2 separate regions of the Homo sapiens genome follow, and region 1 is linked to region 2. The links are contacts of gene promoters, found by promoter capture Hi-C in human tissues and cell types (Jung and others, 2019). All regions are on one chromosome and are shown on one strand. Each heading gives the region's core, a stretch centred on a gene start or on the middle of the fragment in contact. The rest is flanking DNA. Distances are from core to core; before and after follow the strand shown.

Region 1 (6,751 bases), core at 3,330-5,829, 41 kb after region 2:
TAGAAACAAGTTATAGATAAAGATACAGTGCTTTAATTTTTTAAACCTGGGGTTATAATGGCCATATAACTAATGTTTTATTTAGTAATAAGAAACTTCCAGCATGGGCAACACAGCAAGACCCCATCTCTACAAAAATACAAAAATTAGCTGGGCATGGTGGCATGCACCTGCAGCGCCAGCTACTCGGGAGGCTGAGGTGGCAGATACCTGAGCCCAAGACACTGAGGCTGCAGTGAGCCATGATTGCACGACTGCACTCCAGCCTGGGCAACAGAGTGAGACCCTGTCTCAAAAAAAAAAGAAACTTGACCTCAGATTTTTTTCTTGTGTTTCTAAGACAGATGTTGGTATGTTTGTATGAGAGATGATAAAGCTTAACTTTAACTAAATAACTGGAAGTCAAGAATTGGTTTGATTGGAACTATTCTCTAGTCCCAACCATGTGATAAAGCATCAGAGCAAACTATGCAAGATAGTACACGTGTATGGCTTAAAGGAAACCATACTAGATTAAAACATAACTCATATTTGTGATTTTCAAGTCACTACTTGGAGTCCTCCCTAGGAGTTCCATAGTGTTGCCTTGGGAACTAATGGGAGAAAGAGGGGAGCCAAAAAATGCCCCCACCACGTGCTTCAGACTAATTGTGAGAGGGTATATGCATGTTCCTTTGTGTAAACAAATAAACTTTTAATTTACTATATAGTAATTAGTATTGGGCTTCTAATAAATGTTTAAAGACTGATAAACTGTACTTACTGATTCTGAAATACACTTTTCTCCACATTTTAACATCTCTAAAATTGCATCTTTTTTTTTTTTGAAATGGAGTCTCACTCTGTCACCAGGCTGGAGTGCAGTGGAACGATCTCGGCTCACTGCAACCTCTGCCTCCTGGGTTCAAGCGATTCCCCTACCTCAGCCTCCCAAGTAGCTGGGACTACAGGCGCATGCCACCACACTCAGCTAATTTTTTTTTGTACTTTTAGCAGAGACGGGGTTTCACCATGTTGGCTGGGATGGTCTCGATCTCCTGACCTCATGATCTGCCCGCCTTGGCCTCCCAAAGTCCTGGGATTACAGGCGTGAGCCACCGTGCCTGGCCAGTTGCATCTTTACTATCTCAAAAATTGATGGTGTGTCACAGTTTAATGGACATTTTTTTTTTAGTAGTGTTTCATAAAATAAAGGGGCATATTACAAAAATATAGACTGTAGAAAAATTTGAAAAAAACTATTTTTACAGGGAGGAGTAATTTCATTAATATAAGATGGTATTCTTAGCAACAGTCATCATGGAAACCAGGAAAATAAGCCTTAAATTTTATGACTTTGTCCCTTCCTATTGATTTCAGGTTATGTTTGTATGGATAATCATAGGCTACACTGCCACACTGTCCAACATGATAGCCACTCGCCAATTGTGGTTATTTACATTAATTAAAATTAAATAGGCCAGGTGCAGTGGCATGCACCTATAGTCCCAGCTACTTGGGAGGCTGAGGTGGGAGGATCGCTTGAGCCCAGGAGGTAGAGGCTGCAGCAAGTCATGATTATACCACTACATCCCAGCCTGGGTGACAGAGTGAAACCCTGTCTCAAAAAAAAAAAAAAGAAAAAAATTAAATAAAATGTAAAATTCAGTTCCTCAGTCTTACTAGCCACATTTCAAGTGCCCAGTAGCCACATATGACTAGTGGCTACCATATTGGACACTGCATTATTGCAGTGCACATGTTATAGAAGATTTCCATCATCATAGAAAGTTCAGTTGGACAGCACTGGTCATAGGAGTTCAGAACTCCTTGCCCACAATTCTATAATACAAAAGGCTCTGGCAGAAGTTTGCCACAAGCTCATTTGGTAGCAAAACTGAGCTCAGCTCAGAAGAGGCTATATGGTCTTTATACTGTTCAGAGTGAATATTCATACATTTCACTGTAAAAATACACTGCAGAAATATTAATAGGATTAAAAATGTGGGGCGCTGCCCCACACACTGCTGAGGCTGTTACATTAGGTACCGCCTCAAGGATTAGATATATCTTATTACAAAAACATATGGCTTCAAGGATTTCATTTCATTTTATTTTTTTGAGAGAGGGGCTTACTCTGTCACCCAGGCTGGAGTGCAGTGGCATAATCACAGCTCACTGCATTCTCGACCTCCCAGGCTCAAGTGATCCTCCCACCTTTGTTTTCTGAGAGGCTAGTACTACAAGTGTGCACCACCATCCTAAGCTAATTTTTGTTTATTTTCTGTAGAGACAGAGTCCCACTATTTTTCCCAGGCTGGCCTCAAGAATTTCAAATAAGGGACTGTGGACCTGTATTTGAAGAAAGGAACTTGATTACAGTTTTTCTTAGTTTAATGGGACAAAAAAGTAGATACTCTAACATCTATTAGTTATGTAATCTTGCACAAGCTATTTTAACATTTCTGTGCCTCAGTTTCCCATTTGTAAAATGAAGACATAAATAATAATATTTCCTTTATCTACTTTACAAGGAAATATGTTAAGATAATACATCAAAATAATAATTAAGAAAATATTGTATAAACTATACTATACAGATTGTTATTTGGAGGAAAATAGATTTGATTTGACATAGCATAGCTCACTTAGTTTCTCTTGTGGTATTGATTTTTAGATCGGGGCTGCTAGTCGCATACCCGGAGTAACACCTGCCGCCATCATCAATCTGCTGAGATTTGTGAAGACCACTCAACGAAGACAGTCGGCTATGAATGAATCATCCAAGACTGATCAATACTTATGTGATGCAGACAGACTTCAAGAGAGAGAGTTATAGCTTTCAATTCATAAAAGATTTTTAAAGAGCATATAAATAATTTGATCAATACAACAGTATAGATAAAAGAATTATTTAGCACATGTTAAAATAGCTTTATTAGGTTACTATGGGTTTGCCATTAATTTCTGAGTGGGACAGAAATTATAATTGTGCTTTTTCGTGTATATGAAAAAACTAGTCGTAAACAATTTGTACTCTTTCTTTAAGGAGCTGTAATACAAATAACTTTGTGCAGTGTTCATCAAAGAGAGAGACAGTGAACCTAAAACTGAACCTGGAATAAAACTCAACATGCAGATTTGCCTACTCATAGGGACTTTGCCTATTAAGTCTACCAAATTAAAAGTCTTATCATTCAGCGTGTTTTGAGAGTTAATAATCTTTTGCTTGGTTATACTAGGCTAGGAAGCAATATCAAAGCCCTTAAATTCTCAAGACTAAAGACTTGAGATTATATAAAATTATCCAGAATCATTCAGCTAATACTATTGGAATATAGTATGTAGGGTGAAAGTTGACAGAAATCTGTACTTCTTCAGGAAATCCTCACTGGTAATTGTTTTGAACATTAATGAAAGCCCTATAAAATAGAAAGATTGGAAATCACCATTGTTTCCTATTATCCACAGTGTGGATGGATACTTATTTGGTGACCTAGTTATGGGAGAATTGAGTAACGTTAGTTATTTTATATCATACCATAAAAATATTTTCTTAAGAAATTGTCATGGCCATCATTTCTTAATAATGAAGACAGGTCCATAGTAACTGGTGAGTGGTGTTTCCCTGTTTTTAAGTCAGAATGACAGAAAAAACAGAATAGTGGTAGTACCCCTCTTCCTCTCCAGTACTTCAATGGTATGTCTTCACAGGGGTTAGAGTGGGATAATCAGCTGGGCCTTTTGACTCAGATACCTCAGATACCTCAACCATTCTAAATAGACTAAGGGATGAATACAGCCAAATGGGCCAGACAGCCCTGCTTGTCTCTGGAATTCCAACCCAGATCTCTGGTGTCAGCCTAGGGAGAAGCTCCCGTGTCACCTTCGGGCCAAAGCAGGTACTCAGGAGAGTTCTAAGGGCCCCAAAGTCACTTTGGCTACAGATGTGTATGTTAAGCCTGATTATGGGTGTGAGGCAACCAAGTATCTTGTTACTATAATTGCATATGGCCACTTGGAGGTAGCTTAGTTTTCTTGGGTTTATTTTATCTAATTTTAGTCTTTCCAGAAAGCAGTAAGATTAGTAGCAAGTAAAAAGTATTTGTAGTGCTGGATAATTTAGGAATGATGAATATTTTTTAATACTTGATTCAGTGATTTCAAAAGGTCGTAACTTTTAGTCATAGCTACTCCTGGGCAAAATTCTTCTTACAGAGACAATATTAATTACAATACCACATTGTGTATATATTTTGAAAAGAGGCTGGTTGCAGCAGCTCACGCCTGTAATCCCAGCACTTTGGGAGGCTGAGGCGGGTGGATAACCTGAAGTCAGGAGTTCAAGACCAGCCTGGCCAACATGGCAAAACCCCATCTCCACTAAAAATACCAAAATTAGCCAGGCGTGGTGGAGCAAGCCTGTAGTCCCAGCTACTCAGGAGGCTGAGGCAGGAGAATCGCTTGAACCCAGGAGGCAGAGGTTGCAGTGAGCTGAGATTGTGCCACTGCACTCCAGCCTGGGCGACAGAGTGAGACTGTTTCAAAAAAAAGAAAAAGAAAAGAAGGTATTTTGTGTTTTTGTGCTACCCGTTCAGCAAAATAATGAAATTCATTGTTTCTAAACTTTTTTTTCTGATTAAATACAAGAGTAAAAAAAGTGAATGGAGTGCCTTTTGAATAGAATATAACAAAAATTTATCTTAAAGAAACGGGAAGTAACCTGGCACAGTGGCTCACGCCTGTAATCCCAGCACTTTGGGAGGCTGAGGCAGGTGGATCACGAGGTCAGGAGATCGAGACCATCCTGCCCAACATGGTGAAACCCCATCTCTACTAAAAATACAAAAATTAGCTAGGTGTGTTGGCACGTGCCTGTAGTCCCAACTACTCAGGAGGCTGAGGCAAGAGAATCACTTGAACTCAGGAGGCAGAGGTTGCAGTGAGCCAAGATCATGCCACTGCACTCCAGCCTGGCAACAGAGTGAGACTCTGTCTCAAAAAAAAAAAAAGAAACAGGAAGTTCAAATATTTTGGGAGGTTCTTGACAGCTACAATTTGGGGCTAGTGACACTATACACATATAAAGAAACTTTAAAGTTTCTTAGTAATGAAGGTTTGTAATGCTATTCCATTACAATAGTAACTGTCTCACTGAAAAATGTTTCATGGAAAATACATATTTTAGATTCTATGATTTGCTTTAGGATGTGAACTTCTTTATTTTTTAGAGACAGGGTCTCACTCTGTTGCCCAGGCTGTAGTGCAGTGGTACAATCATAGCTCACTGCAGCCTTGATCTCCTGGGCTCAAGTGATCCTTATGCCTCAGCCTCCCAAGTGGCTGGGACTACAGGCACATGCCACCATGCCTGGCTAAGTTTTAAAAAAATTTTTTGTAGGAATGAAGTCTCACTATGTTGCCCAGGCTGGTCTTGAACTTCTGGCCTCAAATGATCCTCTTGCCTTGGCCTCCCAAAGTGCTCAGATTACAGGCATGAGCCACCACACGTGGCCTGAAACCTCTTTAAATCCACAATGTTTGTATGTTAACTTAAACAAAATTACATCACTTAATATGTCAAAACAGCCTACCCTCTGGTGCTGCTATGCAGAAGTACTACAGAATATGATGCCCTAGGAAGAAATCAGCTAAAAATGTAACCTTACTCAATGTAGTTACTTCATAGAAATCCCATCACTGACAATAATCAGCTGCCAACGAAAGCTGGCCATACTTGTGACTTCCTCTATTCACCACAGACCAGACTGCCTACCAGTTGAAAAAGCCAGGTATTTTTTCAATTCAATTCAACAGGAACACCAAAAAATAAGAAATGACTAAGAAACACTAAGCATTTGTAAAATTACTGGGGGAGGAAGGATGAAGATACGAACCTATGCTAAATTAAACGATTATGGCCTTGAAAATGAAGTTCCTTTATAGCCAAGAGCTTAAATTTTGTTACTGATGGTTTTAAAAGTATTTTGTCATTTTTTAGTTTCAACCTAGATTGGAATAGCCATGGCTTTTCTACTTCAGAAATTTCAACTCCTAGAAGAATGCCCTGTCCAGAAGAAGTGGTCAGGAGTATCAGGAAAGCCACCAGCAGAGACTAGGGGTTTATTCTGATCTGGAAGAGCCACTTAACACTGGAATGCACACAGTGAAAATTAATTGTTCCTCTTACACTCCCTCTCCACAATACTTCTATTATTACACTTACTTCGTTCTACCTTAATGTTTTTATTTAGAGACAAGATCTCACTCTGCCACCCTGGCTGGAGTGCAGTGGCATGATTACAGCTCACTGCAGCCTCAACCTCCCTGGCTCTAGCTATTCTCCCATCTCAGCCCTCCAAGTAGCTGGGACTACAGGTGTGCACCACCATGCACGGCTAATTTTTAAGTTTTTGTAGATATGGGGTCTTACTATGTTGCCCAGGCTGGTCTCAAAGTCCTGGGCTCAATTAATCCTCCCTCTTCAGCCTCCTGTGTAGGTGATAGTACAGGCATGAGCCACCATGTGCCTGGCCCTACCTTAATGTTAATATCTGTCTACCTTAAGAAGATATAAGCCTTGTAAATATAAGCAATATCACAGTTGTAGATACTCGTGCTTTTTAAATAGATTAATGAATACTACTAAAGGCAAGAAATGGTATTACTAAAACTCAAGTGAATAATTAAATGAGATCAAAATATTTGTGACAGGCCAGGCACGGTGGCTTACGCCTGTAATCCCAGCACTTTGGGAGGCCAGGCGGATCAC
Region 2 (6,231 bases), core at 2,213-4,712:
CTAAAATTCCCACCTTGCCTGCATACAGCTGCCTGGGCCAGAGAATCATACCCCAGAAGCTGATCCTTTTGCAAGCCCCTCTGTGAAGCCCACCTGTGGCCCAGGAGGTCTACACAGAGCTGCTTCTTCCTCTGTAAACCCCCCACTTTGCACTGCACATGCTTTCTAAAGGCTTTCTGTACTTGAGATATGAACGCCTTCCCACTTTAATTTTTGGATACTTTCCCTCATCCCTAAGGTATCATCTAGAGTTTCCTTATGTCTTATTGTTATTTTTTTTGGATAGAAAAGTGTTCATGATTATTAAGTAAAGAATAGATTACAAAACAATGCACACACTATGATCTAATTTTTATTAAAAAATATTTAACCGAAGTTGCAGAAAGCGAAAAAAAAAATTTAAAGAAAAAAATATCAAAAATAGGCTGGGAGCAGGGCTCACACCTGTAATCCCAGCACTTTGGGAGGCTTTAGGCCAGGAGTTCAAGACCAACCTGGGCAACATAGTGAGACACTCCCTCCCTCAACCCCATGTCTACAAACAAACAAACAAAAAACAACAACAAAGAAACCAAATTAGCCAGGCCTAGTGTCCACCCACATCTGTGGTCCCAGCTATTTGGGAGATGGAGGTGGGAGGATCACTTGAGCCCAGGAGGCGGAGGTTGCAGTGAGCCATGATAGCGCCACTGCACTCCAGCCTGGGCAACAGAAGGAGATCCTATTAAAAAAAAATAAAGAAAAGAAATAATGTTTACTGTTTTTTGTTTTAAGGGTTTTTGTTTTGTTTTTTTGAGACAGGGTCTCAGTCACCCAGGCTTGAGTGCAATGGCACCATCTGGGCTCACTGCAACCTGTGCCTCCTGGGTTCAAGCAATTCTCCTGCCTCAGCCTCCTGAGTAGCTGGGACTGCAGGCACGCAGCACCATGCCAGGTTAATTTTTCTATTTTTAGTAGAGATAGAGTTTCGCCATATTGGCCAGGCTGGTCTCAAACTCCTGGTGGACTCAAGTGATCCGCCACCTTGGCCTCCCAAAGTGTTGGGATTACAGGTGTGAGCCACCACTCCCGGCCTATGTATTTAATACTTTTTATAATTAGAACAATAAAACTGCCACACTGTAGGGAGACCCCTGAAACTATTGCTACGGAATAAAAGATGAAATGCTCCTGATTATTGTAAATACAAAGTTGCATGCAGGATTGTGTAAAGAGAATGCCAGGTTGGACTGCCAGAATGAGCCAACAGCGGGTGATGTGCTTCCCCCTGCAGAGAGCCTATGAACGGACGTGCATCACCAAGATTCCTATCCCAGAAAAGCAGATGTTCATAGCTCTGGGAATGGAATGCAACCCTTGTGGAAAGCCTCTAAACGGACGCATGAGGGGCGCCTGTCCCTGTGGGTAAGATAGGGCTATAAATGCCCTCATCTTGCCACGGCTCTTCTAGGCCTTTTTAGGGTTAAGGCATACTCCCTTCTGAGAATTTCTGGTCTAACTGATTGTCTAGCTTCACATCCTGTTTCTATGGATTGTTTGTAACCAGCTTTTGCTGCAACTGTTACTGCTGATTAATATCTTGCTAATCATAGGTTATGGAAAGACTGTTTCTGTTTTAAGGCTCTGTTAGAAATTACTGATGCACACAATATATTGTAAATTCTTATCTCTGTATACTGTACTTCTGCATACAGATGTTATGTTAAAGAATTACTTCATCCCCATGTGACCATCTCACCTCATAATCAAATGACCCTAAATCCCTCACTAACCTACCCCTGCCCTCACTAAACTTAATAATAAATGCTGGTATATCCAGTGTATTAGCAGCATTGCAGGACCAGAAGGCAGTGACCCCCCTGGACCCAGCTTTCAATATCTTCTGTGTGTCTATTATTTCTCGACCTGCCAATCCGCCTGGGAACAAAGAAAGAGCCCCATTGCATTGTGGGCTGCTGGCCAGATCCTGCAATACCACACTTGTTTTATTCTCCAGTCAAACGTTGCCTTTCTGAGAAAGGCTGTGAATTGAGAAAGGCTGTGAATTCCAAAAGGCTGGACATTTAACCTCCAACCAACCGATTCTTCTAATTAACCAATTAGCCATCATGAATCTCTCTCTCTCTTTTTTTTTTTTTTGAGACAGAGTCTCACTCTTGTCGCCAGGCTGGAGTGCAGTGGCACGATCTCGGCTCACTGCAACCTCTGCCTACGGGTTCAAGCAATTCTCCTGCCTCAGCCGCCCAAGTAGCTGGGACTACAGGTGCATGCCACCACACCTGGCTAATTTTTTTTTTTGTATTTTAGTACAGACGGGGTTTCACCATGTTGCCCAGATTGGTCTCGAACTCCTGAGCTCAGGCAATCTGCCCCCTTCGGCCTTCCAAAGTGCTAGGATTACAGGCGTGATCCACCATGCCCAGGCACCATCATGAATCTTTCAGTCCACAAATATATTTGAACTCCTTTCGAATCTATTCTTTTTCTTTTCTTTTTCTTTTTTTTTTTTTGAGACGGAGTCTTGCTCTGTCGCCCAGGCTGGAGTGCAGTGGCACAATCTTGGTTCACTGCAACCTCGGCCTCCCAGGTTCAAGCGATTCTCCTGCCTCAGTCTCCTGAGTAGCTGGGATTACAGGTGCATGCCACCACTCCCGGCTAATTTTTTTTTTTTTTTTTTTTTTTTTTTTTTTTAGTAGCGATGGGGTTTCACCATGTTGACCAGGATGGTCTCCATCTCCTGACCTTGTGATCCACCTGCTTCGGCCTCCCAGAGTGCTGGGAATACAGGCGTGAGCCACCGCGCCCGGCCCGAATCTATTCTTATTTTCAGCCCTTAGTTTTTATAGACAAACAGAAGGTGACGGTGTATCAGATTGTCAGATCACAAAGATCTGATAAGGCAAAGTGATCAAATTCATTGATCGTAGGTGGCCACCTGGCGATAAGGACTGCAGGGCCTAAGAAAGTACAAAAGATGACCTTTAGTAGGAGCTCCCAACCCAGAACCACAGGAAATCAAAAAAAGCCCGCACGGGCGGATCACGAGGTCAGGAAATCGAGAACATCCTGGCTAATACGGTGAAACCCAGTCTCTACTAAAAATACAAAAAATTAGCCGGGCGTAGTGGCGGGCGCCTGTAGCCCCAGCTACTCGGAGGCTAAGGCAGGAGAATGGCGCGAACCCGGGAGGGGGAGCTTGCAGTGAGCCGAAATCGCGCCACTGCATTCCAGCCTGGGCAACAGAGCGAGACTCTGTCTCAAAATAAATAAATAAATAAATAAATAAATAAATAAATAAATAAATAAATAAATAAATAAATAAAAATAAAAAATAATAATAATAAAAAAAGCCCGCACGAACTAGGAAAGAAAATACACAACCGGCCCTCCGTGCGATCACCCATCTCCCTCACCAGGAAAGTAGCTCCAAACCGCCAATCAGCGGCGACGCTGGACGTAGACGTCCTACCCCGTGATATTAAAGCAAGATGGCCGCGCCCTGCAGATTGTCTCTTGTTGCGTAAGTTTTTTTGACCGTCACTCGTGTCAGCTTCAAAGTCAGATAGATTTTTCTCCCAGCATGTTCTACTTCCGAGGCTGTGGCCGTTGGGTCGCGGTTTCCTTCACCAAGCAGCAATTTCCGTTGGCACGGTTGAGCAGTGACAGCGCGGCGCCCCGGACTCCGCACTTCGACGTGATAGTCATTGGTGGAGGACATGCCGGGACTGAGGCAGCCACCGCCGCCGCTCGGTGCGGCTCTCGGACTCTGCTCCTCACTCACCGCGTGGACACGATCGGTGAGGAGCGCGGGTGCTGTGGAACTTGGCGTAGGACGCAGGCTGCTTCCTTCCCGCCTCCCCCGGTCTGAAGCGGGGGACCTCTTCCTTTCCTCAAAGCTAGTGAGAATCCTACCTTCTGTGGTTTTAGCCTCGATCAGTGTCTCGCAAGGATCAGGCGGGCCAGGCCAGAACTCTATATTAGTCTATTCTGCGAACCATAGATTATGCTGCTGCTGACAGTCGTCCGTTGTAGGAGGTTGGGGTTCGGGGTCAGTGCCTTGGGAAAGGGAGCTACCAACTACTCGCTGGTAGCTTCTTAGTTCATTGCTGCGTTTACCTTCTACTATGTTACTCCAGATAAAGGGTGAATTAACATTATTAACAATGGTTTATGGCCAGGTGCAGTGGCTCACTTCTTTAATCCCAGCACTTTGGGATGCCAAGGCAGGTGGATCACCTGAGGTCAGGAGTTTGAGACCAGCTTGGCCAACACGGCGAAACCCCGTCTCTACTAAAAATACAAAAATTAGCCGGGCATGGTGGCGGGCGCCTATAATCCCAGCTACTCGGGAGTCTGAGGCAGGAGAATCGCTTGAACCCGGGGGCAGAGGTTGCAGTGAGCCGAGATTGCGCCACTTCACTCCAGCCTGGGCAAAAGAGCAAAACTCCGTCTCAAAATAATGATAATATTAATAAAATAAAAAAATCCTTTATTAAACGGTTCTTGTGTTTTTATTTAAAAACATTTTTTTAGAGACAGGGTCTCGCCATGTTGCCCAGGCTGGAGTGCAGTGACTACTCATAGGCACGATCGTTGCACATTACAGGCTCCGCTTTCTGGACTCAAGAACTTTTCCTGCCTCTGCCTAACCAGTAGCTGGGATTGCAGGTGCTCAGTACTCTGCCCAGCCTGATCTTTGTGTTTCTGTCAAGATTTTGTGATGCCTTTTGGAAGAACCATGCTACCTTTTTTTTTTTTTTTTCTTTTGAGACAGAGTCTTGCACTGTCACACAGGCTCAAGTGCAGTGGCGCCATCTCGGCTCACTGCAAGCTCCGCCTTCCGGGTTAATGCCATTCTCCTGCCTCAGCCTCCCGAGTAGCTGGGATTACAGGCACCCACCACCACGCCCGGCTAATTTTTTTTTTCTTTGTATTTTTAGTAGAGTCGGGGTTTCACCATGTTAGCCAGGATGGTCTCGATCTCCTGACCTTGTGATCCGCCCGCCTCGGCCTCCCAAAATGCTGGGATTACAGGCATGAGCCACCGTGCCCAGCGCCATGCTACCTTTTGCATCCTATATTCCTTCTGGGTTGTCGTCCCTGGATTTTGTGTTTAGTACTGGACAGTACTTTTTTTGCTCTAATGGGTAATGGTTGGATGGCCGTTCTGTAGCATCATGATAGATACTAGCTAAAACATCAACTTGTAAATTATGTATACTTTTGTCTTTCCTCCTTCCTTTTGCTTAGGAGCGAGCAGTAATTAGAATATTTACTTGTTTTGTAAAAGTTGTGAATAAATCACTTATTTATTCCTGAAATTCTTCTTTAAAATAACCATTCAGCTCATAACTGTGAAGAAATATATACTATTAACTGCGGTTTTGTGGGTGGGGGAGAGGAGGCTATATGATTTCCTAAAAGATTATACTTTTCTCATCATACATTCAGGTGGGTTTTTTCTTTTCTTTTCTTTCATTTTTGAGACAGAGTTTTGCTGTTGTTGACCAGGCTAGAATGCAGTGGCGCGATCTTGGCTCACTGCAACCTCCACCTCCCGGGTTCAAGCGATTTCCTGCCTCAGCCTCCCAAGTGGCTGGGATTAGAGGAGTCTGCCACCACGCCCAGCTAATTTTTTGTATTTTTAGTAGAGATGGGGTTTCATCATGTTGGCCAGGCTGGTCTCCAACTCCTGACTTCAGGTGATCCACCCGTGTCAGCCTCCCAAAGTGCTGGGATTACAGGTGTGAGCCACCACACCTGGCCTGTTGTTTATATTTTTAAAAAATAAAGACCTAGTGCTTGCTTTGGCAACAACATAAACTAAAGTTGGAATGATATAGGGATTAGCATAGCCCCTGCACAAGGATGATGCACAAATTTGTGAAGTGTTCCATATTTTTAAAAAATAATAATAAAATAAAGACCTAGGCCAGGGGTGATTACTCACGCTTGTAATCCCAGCATTTGGGGAGCCCAGGAGTCTTCTATTTCAAAGGAAGAAGGAGGAAAATAATCTACCACAGCTGTCATTCCTGTTTTTACAGTAGAGAGACTAAGGTATGTTAGGTAACTTGCCATGATCACAGAGCTCATAAGTGGTAGGTCTAGAAATTGAGCCAGATATCTCTTTCACACACACTCCTCATAATGACACTTCATGCTCATAATCACAGTGCTATCCAGTCTCCCTGTGGAGACCATTAAAACTTGTGGAGGTCTTGTCTGGGC

The links. Contacts are between HindIII fragments. The study calls those that stand out against the background at their distance.
Region 1: a contact is called between a fragment that was not itself captured here and the fragment with the promoter of MTO1 in region 2, in 1 of the 25 tissues and cell types used here (spleen).

Annotation. Positions count from the first base shown.
Region 1 is chr6:73,497,918-73,504,668 of GRCh38, forward strand. It overlaps MTO1 (mitochondrial tRNA translation optimization 1), which reads left to right. Exons shown (of 12, transcript NM_012123.4): 12 at 2,657-6,751. The coding sequence ends at 2,818. Among named protein-coding and RNA genes, the nearest start is that of EEF1A1, 20 kb to the right of the region's middle. RefSeq lists a silencer at 5,636-5,836. The HindIII fragment of the contact is 9,056 bases long and covers 52-6,751 here.
Region 2 is chr6:73,458,275-73,464,505 of GRCh38, forward strand. It overlaps MTO1 (mitochondrial tRNA translation optimization 1), which reads left to right and starts at 3,463. Exons shown (of 12, transcript NM_012123.4): 1 at 3,463-3,797. The coding sequence starts at 3,581. It also overlaps the pseudogene RNU6-975P. RefSeq lists a silencer at 2,964-3,023 and enhancers at 3,456-4,301, 3,474-3,803, 3,874-3,933, 3,954-4,003. The HindIII fragment of the contact is 26,494 bases long and covers 1-6,231 here.